2 separate regions of the Homo sapiens genome follow, and region 2 is linked to region 1. Evidence: promoter capture Hi-C in human tissues and cell types (Jung and others, 2019). All regions are on one chromosome and are shown on one strand. Each heading gives the region's core, a stretch centred on a gene start or on the middle of the fragment in contact. The rest is flanking DNA. Distances are from core to core; before and after follow the strand shown.

Region 1 (3,681 bases), core at 1,182-3,681:
TAGCCAGGATGGTCTCGATCCTGACCTCGTGATCTGCCCACCTCGGCCTCCCAAAGTGCTGGGATTACAGGCGTGAGCCACCGCGCCCAGCCTTTTTTTTTTTTTTTTTTTAGACAGGGTCTCACTGTGTTACCCAGGCTGGTCTCAAACTTCTGGGTTCAAGCGATCCTCGCACCTCAGCCTCCCCAGTAGCTGGGACTACAGGCATGCATCACTGCACCTGGCTCCCTCAGACTTTATTTGTTTGTTTATTTTTGTAATTAAGACAGAGTCTCGCTGTGTCACCCAAGCTGGGCCACTGTTGCCCAGGCTGGGCTGCAGTGGCGCGATCTCAGCTCACTGCAACCTCTGCCTCCCAGACTCAAGCAATTGTCCTGCCTCAGCCTTCCCAAGTAGCTGGGACTACGGGCGTGTGCTGCCATGCCTAGCTAATTTTTTTTTTTTTTTTGTATATTTAGTAGACACGTGGTTTCGCCATGTTGGCCAGGCTGGTTGACCTCAAGTGATCCGACCATGTCAGCCTCCCAAAGTGCTGGGATTACAGGCATGAGCCTCCATGCTGGCCTCCCTCAGACTTTAAAATCAAGCTATTCCACGATATTCCCCAAACCTAATAAGAAAGTGATTACCTGTGTCTTTTCTTTCTGCTTGCCCATTCTTCATTATCTTTCAGACCCAGCTGAGATACTACTCCTAGGAAACCCATAGTCCTCAGAGTCCTTCTCCTCTTCCTCCCCAGAGGTCCCTGTCTCTCCCTCAAACACAACTTTGACACCCCTACACCTCTGTGTCTGGATCTGTCTCCCTAAACACATTGGGACAAGGTCAGGAGCTGACCCACTCATTTACTACTCATTCAGCAAGCACTTGTGGAATAACCACTGTGTGCCCGGCCCAGTTCCAGGAAAGTGGATTGAAAACATAAACACAATGAATAACACTCATCTCTGTCTCAGTATCAATCCACCTCGAAGGAATGAATACATGGGAAGGTCCCACCTGGAGTGAGGCTACAAGAACATGACCAGGACGTTTAGCAGGGAGTGAGCCCCCCACCTGGTCCCAGAGAAGAGGGAGATCTGAGAAGACACTGAGGTCTGAGATTAATTTGGGGCAGCGTTGGGGGAGAGGCGCGACCCTAGGTGGCCTTGGCTATGGATGTAGGTTTCAGAGCTCAGACATACCCAGTTGGCCTGTGGGTTTAGAGAGAGTGTAGAGGCTGCAGATCTGCAAGATGATCTGCCGGAGGGACGCCAGACTGGACCTGAGCCCTGGAGGCGTCTCTAATTTCCTTTCTCTTTCTGCACCTTCTTCTACCCTCCAAGCAGGTCCTATGGTGTCTTGAATGCAAAGATATGTAGTTTATATGTTATGCCACGCGCGCGCACACACACACGGTGTTTTGAGTAGGGGTCCTGTGATGTCTTGAATGCAAAGATATGTACTTTAGATTTCAACACACACACACACACACACACACACACACACACACACACACCCACGGTGTTTTGAGTAGGGGAAGCCCACGAGTAGATAGGCTCACTAAAGCCCTGGCGCGGCCTTAGAGTGGCTCCTTAGAAGGGAGCCTCGAATTTTCACATTTTGTCATCTTCCTTTTCTGTCCCCCACATCAGTAGAAAATAGGAGCGTCCCCCCCAGCCAGGTGCATTCGAGCCACCCCTTCAAGGGAATATAAGAATGGACTCGTCCACTCGCTCCCCTCCCCCCACCACGTGAATGGGTCACCCCCCCCCCCGCAACAGTAGGTGGTCCCTTCCGCACATTTCACTCTGTACAGCAAATGGTTTCTTCCCATTTGCTAGACAGAGGGCTAGATTTTCCCCGCCCACTCTCGACTCTTCAGGTAGTTCGCCCCTCCCCGTGACCGGTGGGTGGTTTCTCCCTCCTCCCCGCCTCGGGAGCTGGATGGTCTCGCCTCTCCCTCCCCCCACCCCGTGCCGGGTGCGCGGCCTGGGAGTCAGCGGCCCGAGCGGGAAGCGCCGGGCGAGCCCACTGTGCGGCCGTCGTGGGGGAAGCGAAGGTTCCTGATTCCACCTACCTCCTAAGTGAAGGCTTCCGTCCCTGGAGAGGAGGCGGCGCCCTGTATCGGCCTTCGTCCTCCGCGGGTGTGCTAGCGTTGGGACGGTCCTTTGTTGCCGCGAGGGGTAGGAGTGGGCGTGGCGGAGCCAGCTCCGTTCGGAACACTCCCGGGCCGACCCGACTCGCTCATCCTGCAGGAGCTGCGGCGCCAAGATGAGTGGAGAGGAGAACCCAGCCAGCAAGCCCACGCCGGTGCAGGACGTACAGGGCGACGGGCGCTGGATGTCCCTGGTGAGCGTTCCCACCTGGGATATTGAGGAGTCCGGGGGCGCGGGGGGTGGCTCAGGAGAACGGCTGGTTCGTGCCACTCTCACTACCTGATTGGGAAACTGAGGGCAGTTGAGGAGGCGCTGCCTAAGGGAGCAGGGCGGGGCGGGCCCTGGAGCGTGCATGCCATTGACTCCCTCTCGCGCGCTCCCGCAGCACCATCGGTTCGTGGCTGACAGCAAAGATAAGGAACCCGAAGTCGTCTTCATCGGGGACTCCTTGGTCCAGCTCATGCACCAGTGCGAGGTGAGGGCAGTCCCTCTCCCCCTGCCCCATCCAGCCCTGTGTCCATGCTGACACATCTGGACCAGAACCCAGGCCAGGTGAGGTATTATGAGAGTACCCAGATTGGCCTCAGGCAGCCCGAGGCTCTGAGAATCTTGGTGTAAGGTGCAACATTCTATTGAGAAAGAAATGTATGCCTTGGTTTTATCAGATTGGATTTGTGTATAATGTACTAAGACCTAAAATGAGGCTTTCCTGCCATAGGCTTGCCTAAAGTGAGGCTCTTTCTTGTTTGCTTTAAGTAGTGCGCAGCCCTGTTGGGTTTACACAAAGCTATAGTCACTTTACAGGAAGCGAAGGGCAACTCTAATGGCACTCCACAAAGAGGACTCAATCATAATAATATCTTTCCACAAAGCATGTCCAACTGTAATGGGTTTCATCAAAATAAGTTTCAACTGTAATGCCATTGATTCAATGCATGGCTCAAGCAGACTGGATTTTCATGAAGTGAGTCTTGCTTCTATGGGGCTTGGTTTGTTTTGTTGGTTGGTTGGTTGGTTGGTTGGTTTTTGAGACAGGGTCTTGCTCTGTCACCCAGGCTGGCGTGCAGTGGTATGATCTCTGTTCACTGCAACCTCTGCCTCCTGGGCTCAAGTGATCCTCCCACCTTAGTCTCCGAGTAGCTGGGACTACAGGTGCACATCACCATGCACCTGGCTAATTTTTGTAATTTTTGTAGAGATGGGGTTTTGCCCTGTTGCGCAGGTTGGTCTTGAACTCCTGGGCTCAAGCAGTCCGCCCACCTCAGCATGAGCAACAGAGCCTGGGGCTTGGTTTAAAGTGAGAGACTCTAGGCAGGGTGTGGTGGCTTACGCCTGTAATCCCAGCACTTTGGGAGGCCAAGGCAGGCGGATGACCTGAGGCCAGGAGTTCGAGACCACCCTGGCCAACATGGCGAAATCCTGTCTCTACTAAAAATACAAAAATTAGCTGGGCATGGTGGCACATGCCTATAGTCCCAGCTACTTGGCAGGCTGAGGCAGGAGAATCGCCAGAACCTGGGAAGCAGAGATTGCAATGAGCCGA
Region 2 (3,632 bases), core at 733-3,232, 1.2 Mb before region 1:
TCACTATGTGTGTCAGGCCAACTCCCAGCTGTTAGGGGCTGTTTTTCTCTTTCTTCCATGGAAAACTACACGGCCCCCTGTTGGTTTCCTGGCCTTCTCTCTCACCCCTTCTAGAGTCATTTTCCTTTTTTACACAGAGTCCACAGTGACATTCTTTACCTTGTTTTTATTGAAGAATAACATACGTCCAGTGACAGGCCTGAGTCAGTGATTCTCAACGTATCTGTACACACATGCAGCTGTCACCTAGATGAAGATCGTGGGGGCTCCTCCCTGTTGCTCCTTCTGGGGCCATGCCCTCCCAAAGGTAACATGTGTTCTGATTTCTATCACCACTGGTTAGTTTTGTCTGTTCTGAAACTTCATATATATTCAGTTACACAGTATGTTTTGTTTGTTTGTTTAAGGCTTTCTAAACTCAACACCAAGTTTTTTCTTTTTTTAAAATAAAATGAGATGGGATCTCACTATGTTGCACAGCCTGGTCTCAAAACCCCTGGGTTCAAGTGATCCTCCCACCTTGGTGTCTCAAAGTGCTGGGATTACAGGTGTGAGCCACTGTGCCTGGCCCCAACACAAAGTTTTTGAGATATGTTGCTGCATATATCAGGTGTTGGATCTTTTCTATTGCTGTGTAGTATTCCATTGGCCGAACCAACCACTCTCTTTTGCCATTCACTTCTTTTTCTTTTTCCTTTTTTAAAATCATATATCCTACTCTCAGATCCATTTACTTTTTTTTAATTTTTAAATTTTTAAATTTTTTTTTTTGAGACAGGGTCTCACTCTGTTGCCCAGGCTGGAGTGCAGTGGCGTGATCTCAGCTCACTGCAACCTCCACCTCCTGGGCTCAAGTGATTCTCCTGCCCTACCCTTCCGAGTAGCTGGGACAGCAGGTGCACGCCACTGCACCTGGCTAATTTTTTTAAATTTATTATTTTTTTTTAATAGAGATGAGGTTTCGCCATGTTGCCCAGGCTGGTCTCAAACTCCTGATCTCAAGTGATCCACCCAGCTCGGCCTCCCAAATTGCTGGGATTACAGGCATGAGCCACCGCGCCCGGCCTCCATTTACTTCTTGATGGCTAGCTGCACTATTTCTCAGGTTGATCATATTAGGAAGCAAATCTATTATGTCCTCCAGCTCATTTAGACCCTCTTAAAGGTTCTCTACTATTCTCAAAATTAATCCAAATCTCTTGTCGGGGCCTCTGATGCCCTGAGTGTCTCGGCCTCTGCCTGACTCTTTCATCTCAGTTCCTGCCCTTCTCTCATGGACTTCTGAGCTCAGGAGCACTGCTCTCCTTTCCATGTTTGAATGGTCCATCCTACCTCCTACCTCCAGGTGCTCCCACGTGCTGTTCCCTCTGCTTGTAAAGGGCTGTGTCCCTCTCTTGACCTGCTCTAGCTGGCTACATCCTGCATGCCCTTGAGGTTGCATCTCAGATAACCTCAAGGAAGCCCTCACCGACCAGCCCCCACTTCTAGACTGCACATCTCCTTGTATCACTACACTTTTTCCTTCAGTGTCTTAGTCTCTTTGGTAAACACCAATTTGTACGATTATTTGATTAGCATCTGTCTCCCCCATCAGACTGTGAGCTCTGCCAGGACAGGCACTGGTTCTGTCTTCATCTCCAGCATTACCTAGACCAAAGCCGGGCACACTGTAGATGCTCATTTAACAGTTACCGAACACTGAATGTCGAGTAGCCCCAGCCTGTCTTTAAGCCCCACTACTCTCCCACTCCAAACACACACAGACTTTCTCCCGCGAGCTGTCAGGGAACCTCAGCTCCCACCCTTTCCCTCCTTGGCAACTTCACAGGGCAGGGACCGCTCTCCCTTGGATGACGCGCCTAGGGGCGGGGCCCCGCCCCACAGCCGACGCTGAGTTGGCCCGGTTGGGCAAGGCTGGGGTTGCCTGGGGCGAGGTTACTCATCCTGGGCTCAGGTAAGAGGGCCCGAGCTCGGAGGCGGCACATCCAGGGGGGACGCCAAGGGAGCAGGACGGAGCCATGGACCCCGCCAGGAAAGCAGGTGCCCAGGCCATGATCTGGACTGCAGGCTGGCTGCTGCTGCTGCTGCTTCGCGGAGGTGGGTCTGCTGCCCGGAGAGGTGGAGGGGGTAGAGTGGGGGCTCTTAGGGAGGAGGCTCCTCTGGCCCCGTACAGAGAAGGCTGTGGGAAGGATCCCCACATAAGCAGAGGGCACTGTGGGCAAAGTTCCCCCATCCTAAGCAAGGGAGGCAGAGGGAAGGGTCCTCCACCATGGGCCGTAGGAAGGGTTCCCCACCACGGACAAGGGGAGCTGTGGGCAAAATTTTCCTATCCTGAAGCTGCAGAAAGAAGTCCCCTGTTCCTAGGCCGGGCGCGGTGGTTCATGCCTGTAATCTCAGCACTTTGGGAGGCCGAGGCAGGCGGATCATGAGGTCAAACGATCGAGACCAGCCTGGCCAACATGGTGAAACCCTGTCTCTACTAAAAATACAAAAATTAGCTGGGCGCGGTAGCGCGAGCCTGTAGTCCCAGCTACTCGGGAGGCTGAGGCAGGAGAATCGTTTGAATCCAGGAGGGGAGGTTGCAGTGAGCCGAGATTGCGCCACTGCACTCCAGCCTGGCGACAGAGCGAGACTCCGTCTCAAAAAAAAAAAAAAGAAAAAAAGAAAAAAAGAAAAAAGTGTTCCCTGTCCTGGGCAGAGAAGCTGTGGGTAGTGTTCTCTCATTTGAGCAGAAGGGGGCTGTGGGAAGGGATCCCTCACTGAGCACAGTCTACTGTGGGAAAAGTTCTCCCACACACTGTGGGAAAAGTTCTCTCATTCTGAGCAGAAAACCGTGAGGAGGTATCCTTCCTACCCCGGGATGAGGGGCTTCATGGCGGGGATCGCCTACAGTGGGCATACAGGGCTGTCGGAAGGATGTGCCCACAGTTGGCATAGTGGGTGTGAAGGAAAAGGGTCCAGTGATTCCCGTGCTTCCAGATTTGTGGAAAGCTTTTCCCTACTCCTGCCCTGGAAAAGTGTGTGCAATAAGACTGTCTAATCCCGGGACAGAGGGCATGGGAAGGACTATTTCTCCTTGGGGGTGGACGCTTTAGCAAGGAGGGCTCAGGTCTATTCGGCTCCGCTCCCCCAGGAGCGCAGGCCCTGGAGTGCTACAGCTGCGTGCAGAAAGCAGATGACGGATGCTCCCCGAACAAGATGAAGACAGTGAAGTGCGCGCCGGGCGTGGACGTCTGCACCGAGGCCGTGGGGGCGGTGGAGACCAGTGAGTGGGGACCCCCGGGCCACGCACACCACTGCAGGCTCCTCCGGCCCAGCCCCGCCTCCTTATAGTCCTTTCTGGATCTGGCCACGCCCCTTTAACGCGGCCCCACCCCTCCCTTTCAGCCTGGCCGGGACCCTACGACACAGCCTTGCAGGCCAGGCCTTCTCTATTAACAATTACAAGCGCGAGGAGCAGAGAGTTGAGAACTGGGTGGGGCGGACGGGGAGAGCTCGGGTTTGGAACGAGGTCACGTCCTATGCACTTTTTCTGCTCCACCAATGAGACCTCCCCATCCCTGCCTGTCAACCAGGCTGTCTCCTCCGACTCAGCTCTTTGAGGTTCCGCCCCCGTTCCGTGACCCCGCTCC

The links. The method cuts DNA at HindIII sites, captures the fragments that hold promoters and counts their contacts. A contact is called where the count stands out against the background at its distance.
Region 2: the fragment with the promoter of LYPD3 here is called in contact with the fragment with the promoter of PRR19 in region 1 in 1 of the 25 tissues and cell types used here (thymus).

The regions. Positions count from the first base shown.
Region 1 is chr19:42,300,882-42,304,562 of GRCh38, reverse strand. PRR19 (proline rich 19) reads right to left here and starts at 2,431. Exons shown (of 3, transcript NM_199285.3): 1 at 2,060-2,431. It overlaps PAFAH1B3 (platelet activating factor acetylhydrolase 1b catalytic subunit 3), which reads left to right and starts at 1,939. Exons shown (of 5, transcript NM_002573.4): 1 at 1,939-2,331; 2 at 2,524-2,613. The coding sequence starts at 2,254. RefSeq lists a silencer at 1,825-2,044 and enhancers at 1,598-2,252, 2,205-2,334, 2,415-2,464. The HindIII fragment of the contact is 37,239 bases long and covers 1-3,681 here.
Region 2 is chr19:43,463,958-43,467,589 of GRCh38, reverse strand. LYPD3 (LY6/PLAUR domain containing 3) reads left to right here and starts at 1,982. Exons shown (of 5, transcript NM_014400.3): 1 at 1,982-2,097; 2 at 3,134-3,265. The coding sequence starts at 2,019. RefSeq lists an enhancer at 3,230-3,632. The HindIII fragment of the contact is 17,258 bases long and covers 1-3,632 here.